2 separate regions of the Homo sapiens genome follow, and region 1 is linked to region 2. The links are contacts of gene promoters, found by promoter capture Hi-C in blood cells and fetal thymus (Javierre and others, 2016). All regions are on one chromosome and are shown on one strand. The core of a region is centred on a gene start or on the middle of the fragment in contact, and the rest is flanking DNA. Distances in the headings are between cores, read along the strand shown. Region 1 overlaps RBFA (ribosome binding factor A). Region 2 holds the start of THOC1 (THO complex subunit 1).

Region 1 (2,700 bases), core at 91-2,590, about 80 Mb after region 2:
CTCCAGGCTCATCTTGTGTGTTTCGTACCACAGCCCTAAAATCAGCCATTTCTCCAAGAAGCCCTCGTTCCTTTTATTGGAGAGAGAGATTAGAAACCATGGGTGCTGGGTGTGTTCATTGCTTCTGGGGTGTCTGTCTTTTGGGCCATCTCATCTGACGAAAGGATATATGTGTTTCTACTAACCCTTGTGTAAATATGCACCTATAAACATTTCCGTGTATAGCCATCTGTCTCCAACTCCAGACGTACTGTGTGGATCATTCTAGCCTCCTCTCCTTGCTGATCTGTAAGTCGCACTCCAATGGTGAGCGTGGCTCCCACCATCCATTTGCTTAATTGTTCAGTCTCAGTCTATGCCTATAACAGTATCTGAATCCTTTACTTGAACTTCCATGGGAAACATCTTTATCAATTAGCGTATAGTGTTTATGTGCAGTTTGGTAGGTGTCTTTTTAAGATCCTCTCTCTAACCTTGGGACTAGAAGTAGAATTTAGGTAAAAATTATGAGGTTGAATTAAAACCATCTTCAGCCTCTTCCCCACAACCCATGTTGTTATCAATTAAATTCTGAAATTTTTTAAGATGTCCAGTAATGTAACATCTAAGTTTAGCCCCCTATAAACAGTTATGGTATCATAACCTCTTAAATTAGCTTATGTAACTTTTTGACTTTGCCATCACTAACATAATGCTTATTTTCTCCCCAAAGAAAAAAGGTTTGGTATGAAAGTCCTTCCTTGGGTTCTCACTCGGTGAGTATAAGCCATGAGCCACTTTATAATCTTGATGGGAGTGAGGGTTTAAAAGTTGGCAAAACTCTTACCTGGAGGTCTTTCCATTTCTGTATTGGAGGGGATAGTGTCTATGTGGATGCGACTGGATGCCATTGGCAACATGGAGTTTTGATCTTTTCAAAAAAAAATGTACTGACATTAATGTTTTCTGGAAAGTCATATCTTTTATCAAATTATAATATGGTAATATCCATTCAGTTTTTAGTGTGTGTGTACTGTAAAAGTTTATACAATATATGGCTCCCATTCTGAAAAATAAATACATCACGTTTCCAAAAAATTACTGAATTATTCCCTTTAGCACGGTGAACTTTATGGTATGTGAATTATATCTCAACAAAAACTTTTTTTGAGAAAATATTTACTGGCAGTACTTTTAATCTTGGAGGGTTACCAGGTAAAATTTAAAAGGATCCCGGTTTATAAAACTTTATCTTAATGAAAGCTGAGGCAGCTGAGAGTGATAGCTGCTGTTGATCTGGTTGCCCATCCAGCCCTCCCCCAGCCCCTGCTGTGTGACTTGGTGAGTTTGGAGTTGTAACGCTGCCCTTGGGGTGTGCTCTTCTTCCTGATGGAGACTTACAAACCATCCAAGTTGGAATTCCTCATGAGGAGCACCTCAAAGAAAACCAGGAAGGAAGACCATGCGCGCCTGAGGGCCCTGAACGGCCTCCTCTATAAGGCACTGACAGACCTGCTGTGTACCCCTGAAGTGAGTCAGGAGCTGTATGACCTTAACGTGGAGCTCTCCAAGGTAGGCTGTGTGGCCAAAGAGAAGAAATGGGTTGAGACAGCAGGCCTGGCACTTACTTTACCTGGCCCAGTCTTGCCTGACAATTAAAAAAAGACGCTTTAGACTGGGCGCGGTGGCTCACGCCTGTAATCCTAGCACTTTGGGAGGCTGAGGCGGGCGGATCACGAGGCCAGGAGATTGAGACGATCCTGGCTAACACAGTGAAATCCCATCTCCACTAAAAATACAAAAACTTAGCCGGGCATGGTGGCGGGCGCCTGTAGTCCCAGCTACTCGGGCGGCTGAGGCAGGAGAATCGCTTGAACCCAGGAGGCGGAGGTTGCAGTGAGCTGAGGCCGCGCCTCTGCACTCCACCCTGGGTGACAGAGCGAGACTCCATCTCAAAAAAAAAAAAAGCCACTTTAGCACTTATGAAGTCTTAGTTCTGGGTTGCAGAAATAGAAATGATGCTCAGTCTGGTCATTGGAGCCCTGGAGACAGATGGTGAGTGTCTGTGCTGTGCAGAGGCAGATGTCTCACTGCAAGGCGGGAGTCCTGTGACCAAACAGCACCTGGCACATTGTCAGATAGTAGAAGGTCTAAGCCTGCCGTGGGAAGAGGATGCATCTGCATGTACCTCAGTACAGAGGTACAGGAGATGACTTCCTCTGACCCACTCAGTGAGTTGTAAGGAGAAAAGGCAGCATCGAGCATTTTTGATTAGTGTCTCAGGGCAAGTGGCTGTGAGGCAAGCGTGGGGTCAGGGTTCCGGTTTGGTTCTGCAAACCAGGTGGTTTGGTTTGCGGGTCCTGGTGAAGAGAGGAGGGAGGTTTTGGTTTCTGGGGCCCTACTTCACCTGGGGACATGGTGCGGCAGCAGGAGGTGGCCTCCAGCAGCATGCCAGAGCCCTGGCTTGGGTGGGAGGGGCGTCTGCAGCTGTCGTTTTCATCTCCTGGATGTTGTTTGTCTTGAAAACCCATGTAAGCTAAAAAGTGACCTGTGGAGGGGCGGGGTCTCAGGTTTCCCTGACTCCAGACTTCTCAGCCTGCCGAGCGTACTGGAAGACAACGCTCTCTGCTGAGCAGAACGCACACATGGAGGCTGTCCTGCAGAGAAGTGCCGCGCACATGAGGTGATGACCTTTGCTTTCTGAATGTACTTGCTTTTTGC
Region 2 (2,700 bases), core at 174-2,673:
GCTGTCCGGGTTCAAGCGATTCTCCTGCCTCAGCCTCCCAAGTAGATGGGATTACAGCGCCCACCACCACGCCTGGCTAATTTTCGTATTTTTAGTAGAGACGGGGCTTTGCCATGTTGGCCAGGCTGGCCTTGAACTCTTGACCTCAGGTGATCCGCCCGCCTCGGCCTCCCGAAGTACTGCATTTACAGGCGTGAGCCACTGCGCCCGGCCGCCAATATGATCTTGGATAGTCCTAACAGTTACTCTTAGCAGGCTTTCAAAGCACCAGAGATTGCAGCAAAACGCACACAAAGAAAATGATTATGATGACATACACAAAATATAATCCATTTAAAAAAAACCTCACACTGTGTGTGTGTGTATATATATATTATACGTATACGTATATATATGTATATATATATATATATAACCCTGCAAACAAGAAAACTACTTACTACAAAGGATGAATTTTTCTTTCACACAATTTTCATCCTGGCATCCCTATAACTACCAAAACACAGCCGAATATCTGAGAAATGTTGGTGCAAATGCTAGAGACGAATAGAGTCAGGCAACTTAAAAGTGTTCTTCATACTTACGTTGCTGTGACGAGCAACATAAAAAGAACAGAGTGTCTAAAGTCAGAAAAACCACTGAAGTCACAACTTTTTGGGGGGTGTCAGCTTCTACCTCATGTACCAGGAATAACCAACTTAGCCTACTTCACAGTGTTACTCTAATAGTTAAATGAGAAAGTGATCTGTCAAGTGTTTCCCAAATGCTCAAAACCACCCTTCCACATTGAGCAAGAATAAAATAGCATCTGGTTACCCTTCCCAAGGTGATCTATCTGCCTTTTCCCGCTTAGGATCTCATCGATCGCTTAGGAGTTAGACACGGTGGGTTAAGGGGTGGTGAAGAGACGGCGGGAACAAGCACTTGGTAGCTCAGAAGGCTAGGGCGGGAGCCAGGTCTTTGGACTGAAACCACTCCCACCCTCCCCCTTCAGCAGCTCCCCTTCCCCTTCTCGAGACACCTGCCCCACTAAACGAGCTGAGAGGATGGACCCAACCAGCAGTAGTCTGCAGGTGGGCACTCCAAGCGGGGAGCCGAGGCGCCCAGCACGCAGTCCGGGGACCCGCTGGAGGGTGGGCGGAGGCGGACGGCCCAGCCCACAAAGAAGAGGCGGGTAGTGCGTCTTTCCCTACCCCTCAACCTCCGACGGGGCCCGGAGCGGACGCTGAGGCGGACACACCTCTGTCTCACTTTACCCCAGGGCAAAATTCGAGTAATTTCAGGGAGAAGAGGACAAAGCATAGCGCCGGGTCAGGCCTGCACCCTCCCCTCTACAGCTCACCGTAAACCGCGTCCGCGCTTCGGGCAAACTGAAGAGCGGCGGCGTCGGAGACATCTTCTCGGCTGCGCGTGCCCGCCACTGCGCTGCGGCGCCTGCCGATGACGTCAAGCCAGGAGCAACGAGACTGCGGTCTCTCTGAGCCCGGCTAGAGTGGCCTGTGAACACCGGTCGGGCGAGCTGGCAGTTGGGAGTTTCCCTAGCGACTCAGTTCGGGTGGGCGTTGGGCGCCTGAGTCAGCCAAACAGCCTACTCGGGGTTCTTGGGTAGCCTTTGGGGTGAGGGGACTTGGGCGGCCTTGGTCTGTAAGCTCTGCGTTCCCGGGCGTGGAAGAGACTGGCCGCGCACATGCGTTTCTGTGGTTTTCCTGGTTTGGGGAAAGCGGGTAAATGGTGGCTGGTTGCGGCTAACTGGGCCGCGCTAAAAGGTAACCCAAGGCAGGTGGATTACCTGGGGAAACAGCTGGAGCAGTGGTCCTGGGCCGCCAGTCCGCGGTCATCCCGGGAGCTTAAGATGCGGAGTGGTGATAGGCTCCGGATGTATGAGCCCTGTGGCTCAAGGGCGCTGTTCTCTCTGCTCCGAAATAGAAATAATACCTGTCTCACAGAGCTGTTGAAAAGCTCCACTGAAATAATGACCGCAAGTGTGAACTGTAAAGCAATGTAAGTAGTATTTATTATTAAAAGGTCTCTACTGAAAGAAAGAGACCTAGGAGGAATGCAGTGCCCGGCGCTGATTGGAAAACGGGTGGCGCTGCGTCCTGGGCCGAGGCTTCCCTAGCGAAAACCTTGTCTCCCTCCATTTCGTCCCTTGCCTGCCTTCCCAGGAGAGACGTGGCCGATAGAAGCCGAGTGGCAGTAACTCTAAGTTGGAGTTACACGGTGGAGAAGGAAGCACTGACTCAGACTCGGGTAACTTCCTCTTATTCCCTCACACGTGTATCTTGTTCCCTTCTTCGAAGTCTGTAAATTTAAAATCCTAAGCCCCCCAACAACTGAACAGACCCCCGTGAGGCCAAGGGGACACCAGCAAAATCTTAACAACTGAGTTCCCAGTCATAACGGGATGGGAGGTCAGACGGACCTGGTTATACCCTCTCCCTTTTGTGATTTAGAGGAGATAGCTGACTGGCCATAAAGTTAAAATAGAGGCCAGGCGCGGTGGCTTACGCCTGTAATCCCAGCACTTTGGGACGCCGAAGCAGGTGGGTCACCTGAGGTCAGGAGTGGATCACCTGAGGTATGGCAAACATGGTGAAACGCTGTCTCTACTAAAAATACAAAAATTAGCCGGGCGTGGTGGCACGCACCTGTAATCCCAGCTACTCAGGAGGCCGAGGCAGGAGAATGGTTTGAACCCGG

The links. The method cuts DNA at HindIII sites, captures the fragments that hold promoters and counts their contacts. A CHiCAGO score of 5 or more calls a contact.
Region 1: a fragment that was not itself captured here is called in contact with the fragment with the promoter of THOC1 in region 2 in 1 of 17 cell types (activated CD4 T cells); the score reaches 10.3 in activated CD4 T cells.

What each region holds. Positions count from the first base shown.
Region 1 is chr18:80,035,956-80,038,655 of GRCh38, forward strand. RBFA (ribosome binding factor A) reads left to right here. Exons shown (of 7, transcript NM_024805.3): 2 at 713-755; 3 at 1,375-1,551; 4 at 2,550-2,662. Among named protein-coding and RNA genes, the nearest start is that of RBFA, 2.9 kb to the left of the region's middle. The HindIII fragment of the contact is 4,600 bases long and covers 1-2,700 here.
Region 2 is chr18:266,624-269,323 of GRCh38, forward strand. It overlaps THOC1 (THO complex subunit 1), which reads right to left and starts at 1,424. Exons shown (of 21, transcript NM_005131.3): 1 at 1,343-1,424. The coding sequence starts at 1,396. RefSeq lists an enhancer at 1,293-1,762 and a silencer at 2,153-2,332. The HindIII fragment of the contact is 5,170 bases long and covers 1-2,700 here.